Linked DNA regions of Homo sapiens: all the other regions are linked to region 1. Evidence: promoter capture Hi-C in human tissues and cell types (Jung and others, 2019). All regions are on one chromosome and are shown on one strand. Each heading gives the region's core, a stretch centred on a gene start or on the middle of the fragment in contact. The rest is flanking DNA. Distances are from core to core; before and after follow the strand shown. Region 1 holds the start of CD180 (CD180 molecule). Region 2 has its middle 45 kb from the start of LINC02219. Region 3 has its middle 120 kb from the start of LINC02065.

Region 1 (3,352 bases), core at 570-3,069:
TTGGACAAACAAGAAGACACCAGTGCTCATGCACACAGGAAAGGCCATGAGAGGACACAGAGAGAAGATGGCCATCTGCATGCCAGGGAGCGAGGGTGCAGAAGCAGCAAACTCTGCCAACACCTTGATCTTAAAATTCCAGCCTCCAGAACTGTGAGACAATCAATTTCTCTTGTTTAAGTCACCTAGTCTATGGTATTCAGGGTTTTTTTGGTTTGTTTTTGTTTTTTGGTGTATTTTTGGTTTGTTTGTTTTAAGACAGAGTCTTGCTCTGTCGCCAAGGCTGGAGTGCGGTGGCACAATCACGGCTCACTGCAACCTCTGCCTCCCGGGTTTGAGTGAGTCTCCTGCCTCAGCCTCCCGAGTAGTTGGGATTACAGGCATGTGCCACCATGCCCAGCTAATATTTGTATTTTTAGTACAGATGGGGTTTTGCCATGTTGCCCAGACTGGTCTCGAACTCCCAGTCTCAAGGCATACACCCACCTTGGCCTCCCAAAGTGCTGGGATTATAGGCGTGAGCCACCACGCCTGGCCCAGTCTGTGGCATTTGTTATGACAGCCCAAGCAAAGCAACACACACCTTCCCAGCCTTCATTTCTCATTGGCATGATGCCTCCTCTTGGCCTGCTGCTGATTCCATCCTAATGCCAGACCAACAAGGCTCTGCTCACCCAGCTCTGAGCCTTACCCCAGTGCTGGCTTTGCTCTGCTCTTCCTGATCCTCTGATCTCCTTCTAGTCCTGCCCCAGGGCAACTCCACATCTGGCTATTCCTGGCTCTTACTCTTCTTTTTACCTCAACCCAGACCAGCAGCTCACCAAGCCACCAAGACTCATGGTTCCTCCTGTATGCAGCCCTTGTCTGACAGGCCACGTGGTATTGATCACTTGTGGGGTCAGAGAAAGTGGGAGGAAGTTTGAAGCATTTTAGAGGATGGCAAGAGACGGAGGCCCTTCTCCTTTTTCTCTCATTATCCCCTCCAAGAACTTCCCACAGGTTGATAAATATTGCTATGGTCCAAAACAGAAGGTGCAATTTGGCTCTATTCTCAGATTTTCCTCCTATGGGTTAGTAAAACAGATGGAAGGCTGTCCAAGTCCAAGAGAGAGCCAGACTCATTCAGAGTGATCTTTTCAATGCTCGAAAACCTGGCACAGCGCTGTCTTTACTAATTCTCACCCTGAGAGGAGACCAAAGGACTCATTGGGATAGAGGCCATGTGAGAGTGGGGATGTTAAACCAACAGCTCCCCTAGGTTGAGGCAGGTTTAGGGGTCTGCTTTGTGCACACAGACCCTATTAATATCTTATGACCCACTTGGGATTATTTGGGTGGAATTGTTTGAAGAGGAGAAAAATTCTCTTTGCTTCCTATTAAGATGCCACCAGATGATCCCCTGGCAGAGTTCTTTGGCTCCTTTCTCACAATAATGAAAAAATTATATATACACCTTATTTCCTTTTTAAAGACACTAGATATTGGGATGCCAAGGCTCAGATTGGACTGCGTGCTAAATCTCAAAATTTTCAGACAGTTTAATCTGCATAAAGACAAACAGTTTGGACTCACCTCAATGCACATCTGATCCCAGGAGGTGATGACTTTACAGCCGGCAGAAAACAGCACCACCCAAAAGAAGCAGCTGACGTCAAACGCCATCACAGGCTAGGATTGCTTGGTGGGTTTACCTAATGCTTGGAGCTGAGAAATGGAATCAAACTGTGAAGGCCCTGGCAATTTGGCAGCCAGAGAGGTACTCAGAAGGGTGATCTTGGAACAAGAAATGCTGTTGACTGCTCAGCATTCTGTGGCTCTGTGCTGGAAAAAAAAAAAAAAAAAAAAAAGGAAGTCCCTTTTGCATACCACCCATCTTTGCCAAAAATAACTGAGGACCCAACCCCAGAATGGCCCGTTGCATTTCCTGGCACTGAACATGAATCAGTTGTGCAGTCCTTTTGGGCTGATCACACAGACTCTCATTGTGATGGTTCCAATTGACTTTATGCCAACTTCAAGCATTTGGCCAACTCCAACAGCTTCTGGTCCTTTTCCCCGAGAGAGGCTGTGGAAGCTCTACTCACCAAGGAGGCCACTTTCTTAGTTGTCCTAGGTGAGTGAATAGAAGAGGTGTCAGAGAACATGGAAGGGCAGAGCACTCTGCAGGGGCAGACTGAAGAACTGAGCCCTTCAGTGGCACCTGCTGAGCTGGGAACTGGAGCAGGAGGGAGCAGGCTTGAGAGTGTATCTGCTCCTTGAGCCTCAGCTGCTGCCTTGGCCACCTTGTCCATCCCCACCTCTGGTCTTCGTATAGGGGGAAGATTACTTCATCTCTTGACCTGGCGGTTCAGGCTTGTTAAAGCAGTTGGGGTGGACTCTCTTGTTCCCTCCTAACCTGGCCTGGGGAAGTAGGGGACACTGCCATAGATAGAGCAGCCTGGCTAAAGGAGAGTAGAGTTAGGGATGCCAGCCTTGGCTCTATTTCTTCTTAGAAATAGCTTTGAAGCAGGATTACAATTACCCTTATTATGGAGCAAGATGTGGCAATGATTAAAGAAAGCCAAAGTTCAAACATTCCTCAATAGGCTGCATTTAGCTACCTGTTCTGTCTGTTCTTCAACCCTCTGGCATACAGGATATATTTGGTGTTACTGTTCTCCCACTCCATTTCCAAGAGCCCAGTTCTTAGTATCAGAGTTCACAATGACTTAACTACTGCTACTACTACTACTACCACCACCACCACCACCACCACCTCTACAGTATTACTATGATGAATCAAATGACTATAGTATCTGCCATTTATTGAGTCCTTACTATGTGTCAGACACTGGGTCAGGTTTAATGCAGTTTTTTGCTGCATTTTCCTATCCTCGAATATTTCCATATATTCTATAAGAGAGATATTATTATTTCCCTCATTTTATAGATGTAGAAACTGATGCTTAAGAGAAATTAAATGATCTCTCCAAGCCACACAATTAGAGAGTGGTAGATTAGGGCTTCAGATCCAGAAAATCTCACTGCAGAGACTATGCTGCTACTCTTCACAGTTTAAGAAAGGACTTTGCCTCCTGAAGGAGCTGAAGAGTAGATGGGGCGAAGAATGTTGTTCATCTGGAGATTTCAGAAAAGATGCTAAAAAGCAGAGGGGATTGGAGGAAATATGTACTTGGCAGTCTGCTAGGCCTGCTACACATATTTGGGCTTTTCCTGGTCACCCTTAAAATGCCATCTTCATCAACAAAATCATCTCTGAAGATGCTATCAGCAAGACACAGTCTAAGCAAACCCAGACCAATGACGGACCACCTTGCTTCAAATAAGACATCCATCAGTGTATATTAGGAAG
Region 2 (3,352 bases), core at 469-2,968, 950 kb after region 1:
AGAATCCTTGAAGAAAACCTAGAAAACACCATTCTGGACATTGGCCTTGGGAAAGAATTTATGACTAACTCCTCAAAAGCAATTGCAGCAAAAACAAAAATTGACAAGTGGGACCCAATTAAACTAAAAAGCTCCTCCACAGCAAAGTAAACTATCAACAGAGTGAGCAGAAAACCTACAGAATGGGAGAAAATATTTGTAAACTAAGCATCGGACCAAGTCCTAATATCCAGAATCTATAAGGAACTTAAACAATTGAATAAGCAAAAAATGAATAACCCCATTAAAAAATGGGCAAATGTCTGCTATAAAGACACATGCACACCTATGTTTATTGCCACACTATTCACAATAGCAAAGACTTGGAACTAACCCAAATGCCCATCAATGATAGACTGGATAAAGAAAATGTGGCACATATACACCATGGAATACTATGCAGCCATAAAAAAGAATTAGTTCATGTCCTTTGCAGGGACATGGATGAAGCTGGAAACCATCATTCTCAGCAAACTAACACAAGAACAGAAAACCAAACACCGCATGTTCTCACTCATAAGTGGGAGTTGAACAATGAGAACACATGCATACAGGGAAGGGAACATCACACACCCGGGCCTGTCGGGGGGTGGGGGGCTAGGGGAGGCATAGCATTAGGAGAAATACCTAACATAGGTGACAGATTGATGCGTGCAGCAAACCACCATGGCACATGTATACCTATGTAACAAACCTGCACGTTCTGCACATGTACCCCAGAACTTAAAGTATAATAATAGGAAATAAAAAATAAATAAATAAAATGGGCAAACGACATGAACAGACACTTCTCAAAGGAAGACATAGAAACGGCCAGGTGCAGTGGCTCACACCTGTAATCCCAGCACTTTGGGAGGCCAAGGCAGGTAGATCACCTGAGGTCAGGAGTTTGAGACCAGCCTGGCCACGATGGTGAAACCCTGTCTCTACTAAAAACACAAAAATTAGCCAGGTATGGTGGCAAGTGCCTGTAGTCCCAGCTACTTGGAAGGCTGAGGGAGGAGAATTGCTTGAACCAGGGAAGTGGAGGTTGCAGTGAGCCAAGATTGTGCCATTGCACTCCAGCCTGGGCGACAGAGCGAGACTCTGTCTAAAACAAAAAGAAGAAGAAGAAGACATAGAAGCAGCTAACAAACATATGAAAAAATGCTCAACATCACTAATCATCAGAGAAATGCAAATCAAAACCACAATGAGATACCATCTCACACCATTCAGAATGACTTAATAAAAAGTCAAGAAACAGCAGATGTTGGTGAGTCTGTGGAGAAAAGGGAATGTTTATACACTGTTGGTGGGAATGTAACTTAGTTCATCCACTTGAAAAGCAGTTTGGAGATTTCTCAAAGAACTGAAAACAGAACCACCATTTGACACAGCAATTCCTTTACTGGGTATATATCCAAAGGAAAATAAATTGTTCTACCAAAAAGACATATGCACTCATATGTTCATCACAGCACTATTCACAATAGCAAAGATGTGGCTCAATCTAGGTGCCTATCAATGGTGGATTAAAGAAAATGTGATACATATACACCACGGAATACTATGCAGTCATAAAAAAGAACTAACGCATGTTCTTTGCAGCAACATGGATGCAGCTACAGGCCATTATCCTGAGTGAATTAACTCAGCAACAGAAAACCAAATACTGCATGTTCTCACTTATAAGCTGAGAGCTAAACATTGGATACTCATGGACGTAGACAGGGACAATAGAAACTGGGGACTACTAAAGGTACAGGGTGGGGACAAAAGTTGAAAAACTGACTACTGGGTACAATGCTTGGTACCTGGGTAACGGTATGATTCATACCCCAACCTCAGCATTACACACTATATCCAGGTAACAAACCTGGACATGCACCCCCTGAATCAAAAATAAAAGTTGAAAAAATAAAATAAAAATAAAGAACAAAATTAAGCAAGCAAAAATATATTCAAGAACAAATGAATGAAAAATAATCACACTACAAAGGCAATACAAAAAATAATAAACTCAGCCCCAGATAAGTAGAAATAAAAATCTGGATAAAATGTGTCATTTTTTAGAATTGACTCCCAAAGAAAGGGGAAAAAATCAAATAGGCTAATTTGTAAAAGAGAAATAGGAATACATGTGAGCTACTCCCTAAAAACATCCTTTGGCCGGGCACCCTGGCTCACACCTGTAATACCATCACTTTGGGAGGCCAAGGCGGGTGGATCACAAGGTCAGGCTTTTGACACCAGCCTGGCCGATATAGTGAAACCCCATCTCTACTAAAAATAGAAAAATTAGCCGGGCATGGTGGGGGGCGCCTGTAGTTTCAGCTACTTGGGAGGCTGAGGCAGGAGAATCGCTTGGACCTGGGAGGAGGAGGCTGCAGTGAGCCAAGATTGCGCCATTGCACTCCAGCCTGAGTGAAAGAGCAAGACTCTGCCTCAAAAAAAAAAAAAAAAAATCCTTTTATTGTTATGTTTTTTTTTTTTTCCTATTCAGATGAGTTTAAATAGTATTGGGGTTATCTGTTCCACAATAGTTTCATAACACTTAGCTATAAAACCTAATTTGGACATCACATTCTTTAGGGAATCAAATTATGATTAAAGTAGCATTACAAATCAGTGCGAAGAAAAATTAAAATTATTTATGTAATGGTGTAAGGAGAACTGGGTAGTCACTTGAGAAAAAAAACATTCAGTCAATGCCTTGCTTGTTACATTAAAAATATGTTTAAGAGAAATCAAAGATTTAAGTGTAAAAAATAAATAAAAATACCAAAATAAATTAAAAAATGTTTTTGTTTGTTTGTTTTTGAGGTGAAGTCTCACTCTTGTTACCCAGGCTGGAGTGCAATGATGAGAGCTTGGCTCACTGTAACCTCTGCCTCCTGGGTTCAAGCAATTCTCCTGCCTCAGCCTCCCAAGTAGCTGGGATTACAGGCATGTACCACCATGCCTGGCTAATTTTGTATTTTTAGTAGAGAAGGGGTTTCTCTATGTTGGTCAGGCTGGTCTCAAACTTCCCGACCTCAGGTGATTTGCCCACCTCAGCCTCCCAAAGTGTTCGGATTACAGGCATGAGCCACCGCGCCCAGACTATAAAATGGTTTTATAATCTCAGAGCATTAATTGCTTCACTATGACACAAAACCTAGAAAGTATTTTTAACTGAAAAATTAGAATACATAAAAGTCAAAATTTTCCTGTAAAAATATACCATAAACAAGATGAATAGAAAAATTATTAACTAGGTAAAAATACTGGTAGAAACATAAAAAATGGCCAATTTTCTTAATATTAATATTTAAATATTTCCTAAAAATCA
Region 3 (3,352 bases), core at 535-3,034, 870 kb before region 1:
CTCCCTCTGCCCTGGGCTTTGCTTTGAGCTCTGAATGGGGTCTATGGTGGGAGAAGAAAAGAGGGAGAAGAATTGGCATCTACTTATGGGCTTTGTACTAAGGGCCCTGCCTTATGCCAAAGGGATCCATGGAGCAGACTCAGGGCTTCTTTTACTGTGTGCTGTGTGTCCTCTTCAGTTCATTTTCCTAAAATCCAGGGCCATCCAGCTTCCAGGGTTCAGGAGAGGAATGGTTCGATGGAGATAGGACTGGGAGACAGAAGACCAGGCTCTAAAGACCAGTATGAGCTTGGCCAAGTCAGTTAACCAGCCGGGACTTAGATTTCTTCACCTGAAACAGAAGGGGCTGAGGAGAAAATGCCTCTTTCAATCACAGAATTGTGCCATTTTAGGCATGGTAAAGTCCCAGAAATCATCAAGACCAACCTCCTCACTGATGGATGAAGAAATGGGGTTGGAAGAGTCACTTCTGCACCTGCCAGGTCTGTGCTCAGAGTCACTCAGTGTGGGAACTGTCATCACTGTGATTCCTGATTGTGCACCTGCCAGGTTTGGTGCTCACCCCAAGCTTTGATGATGTTGGTGACCCAGAGTCAATTTCAGGGTTTGGTTTGAAAGTAAACTTTGGGACTTTCTGGACAGTGCCTGGCACCTAATTTGCATGTACTCCTCTATCCAGTGTAGGTAGAGTGGGTATATAAGGAGAAATTTTAAAATTTTAGGTTATTGCCAATTTCCTTACATACCTGAAGTTGTAATTTGAATGTGTCTCCTCCAAAATTCAGGTATTGAAACTTAATGGCCAATGTGACAGAATTAAGAGATGAGGTCTTGAAGAAGTGATTAGGCCAGCAGGGCTCCTCCCACATAAATGGGATTAAAGCCCTTATAAAAGAGGCCTCATGCAGCAGTGTTTGGCTTTCTTGCCCTTCTGCCTTCCACATGGGAGGATGCAGCATTCTTCCCCTCAGGAGGACACAGCAACAAGGCACCATCTTAGAAGAGAGATAGGGCCCTCACCAGCTGGCCCTTTGAACTGGGACTTCCCAGGCTCTAGAACCATGAGAAATAAGTTTGTTCTTTATAAGTTACCTAATTCCAGGTATTTTGTTAAACCAGCACAAAACTGACTAAGACTCCTGAGGAGAAGGTGAAGGGTTCATTGGTACAATACTCAGTTGGGTGGTGGTCGGAGTGGGCACTGGTTGTGTGTCCTACTCAGAGCATAGCACAATGGAGGTTGAGAGAAGATGAGAAGCGTGATGCCTGGTTGGTGATAGAAGGGTATGAGTATTCCTCAGCATAATTCCTGGTGTTACTGATTAAAGGGCTGTGGATTACTTCCGTAAAAGAGCTCAGATCTTGGACAGGTTGACTAATTCAATAAGCAGGGACACTACTGTGAGTTGTTTTCCAGGGCTGAACTGAAAGGACACTTGATTGTCCTACAATGATGGAGCTATAGAGTATGGAGACCCAAGATTAACCTTTCCAAAGCACACGCTGGGAATTACTCTGGGTGTGGGTGTGGAGAAAGGAGAGAAAAACTGAGAAACTCAGAGACAGAGTTTGAAGAGGACTTTGTAAGTGAAGGTTTTTACCATCCCTTGGTAAGTGTGTCCCTTTAAGGAAGAAAGGGGCTGGCTCCCATTTGGATCTACACATCCCTGGGGAAGATATCAGAATTTTCCATTAATAAACTTAGGAGTTTTAAGATCCATAAAGTCTATGTGGGGAATTGAGTTGGTAGTCAAACCCTTGAATTAAAGCTTGATTTCAGAGTCTCAGTAGGTGTGGGTGAGGTGAGGTGAGGATGGCATGGGTGCCTCATCTAAACAAATGAATCATGGAAAATACCTTGAATCACCTAGCCCCACCTTCCTCCCACTGCAGGAATCCCTCACACAACAGCTCAAACAGATAATCCTGTAGCTTCTGTTTCAGTTCGTGCATTGACAGGAAACTAACGAATCTCTTAACAGTGATAGGCTTCAACAACCCACTGTGGGCTGACGTTAATTGTTAGAGGCTGCTTCCTTGCATGAAATTAAATATGCCTCCTCTTGGCCATAGTTCTCCTCTCTAGAGCTAAACAATTATATTGACTTTCAACATACTGTCATTCCAAAGAGAGCTATTCAGCCCCCACCTTACTCTTCCCCCATTGTTTTCTTTTTCAGGCTAAATCTCTTCAGTTCATCCCCTTGTTGATCATAGAACATACTTCTAGATTTCTCTGAGCTCCTTTGGATGTCTTCTGATTTGTCAACATGTGCTATGGCCTGGCCTCTTTCTTCTCTCTGTAAGCCAAGAGGAACATAGCACTGGGCTTTCCTGCATGTGGCAGTTAGGAGTTTTCTGAGCCTTCTTGAATGATTTTTTTGGCACAGTCTGGCCTGCTCTGTGCCTAGTGACCATTTGTGGCTGCCCAAAGGTTGGGGAACTTTGCCCAGGTGGGAACAGTCTGACCTGGAAAGCTTCTTTCCCCAAGAAGTATAGGGGAACTAGGTTGGAAAAGACTTGCCTGTCCTCTTCAGGGATCTGTCTACTCCTTAGAATAGTCTGCACCTCTCATTTTCTCAAAGATCATGGCCCCGCTAAGGCCCAAGGCCACAGCATAGAATTAATTTTGGTCCTAAAGAAGAGTAGATAATGATCTGGCATTCCTGATCTCCATCCATCCATCCATCCATCCATCCATCCATCCATCCATCCTCACATCAATCATTTATCAGCATGCACTGAGCAATGACTTTTTCGTAGGCAATGAACTAGGCAGGGAAATAGGACCTGTGAGTTGCAGTTTCCTGCTGAGGAATCTCTCTTCTCTTCCTGAGCCCCACCCCTCTGTAAGTAGTCAGAGACTCAAAGAAGACTTAAGAAGATCCAGGAAGATTAAGGCAGAGCCTCAAGAAGGTCACAATCTAAAGTAGTTTATAGTGAAACATTTCAATGAAGGGTGATATGGTTTGGCTGTGTCCTCACTGAAATCTCATCCTGAATTGTAGTTCCCATAATCCCCACATGTCATGGGAGGGACCCAGTGGGAGGTAATTGAATCATGGGGGCAGTTGCCCCCATGCTGCTGTTCTTGTGATAGTGAGTGGGTTCTCACAAGATCGATGGTTTTATAAGGGGCTGCCCCCTTCACTGGGCACTCATTCTCTCTCCTGCTCTCCTGTGAAGAAGTGCCTTCCACCATGATTATAAGTTTCCTGAGGCCTCTCCAGCCATGTGGAACTGTGAGTCAATTAAACCTGTTTTCTTTATAAATTACCCAGTCTCAGGTATTTCTTTATAGCAGCGTGAGAATGGACTAATACAGTAAATTTGTACCGAGGAAGTAATGTGT

What was found. The method cuts DNA at HindIII sites, captures the fragments that hold promoters and counts their contacts. A contact is called where the count stands out against the background at its distance.
Region 2: a contact is called between a fragment that was not itself captured here and the fragment with the promoter of CD180 in region 1, in 1 of the 25 tissues and cell types used here (dorsolateral prefrontal cortex).
Region 3: a contact is called between a fragment that was not itself captured here and the fragment with the promoter of CD180 in region 1, in 1 of the 25 tissues and cell types used here (dorsolateral prefrontal cortex).

The regions. Positions count from the first base shown.
Region 1 is chr5:67,194,980-67,198,331 of GRCh38, forward strand. CD180 (CD180 molecule) reads right to left here and starts at 1,820. Exons shown (of 3, transcript NM_005582.3): 1 at 1,573-1,820. The coding sequence starts at 1,662. RefSeq lists an enhancer at 644-793. The HindIII fragment of the contact is 16,000 bases long and covers 1-3,352 here.
Region 2 is chr5:68,143,323-68,146,674 of GRCh38, forward strand. No RefSeq gene overlaps it. Among named protein-coding and RNA genes, the nearest start is that of LINC02219, 45 kb to the right of the region's middle. The HindIII fragment of the contact is 9,444 bases long and covers 1-3,352 here.
Region 3 is chr5:66,327,403-66,330,754 of GRCh38, forward strand. No RefSeq gene overlaps it. Among named protein-coding and RNA genes, the nearest start is that of LINC02065, 120 kb to the left of the region's middle. RefSeq lists an enhancer at 1,278-2,477. The HindIII fragment of the contact is 4,246 bases long and covers 1-3,352 here.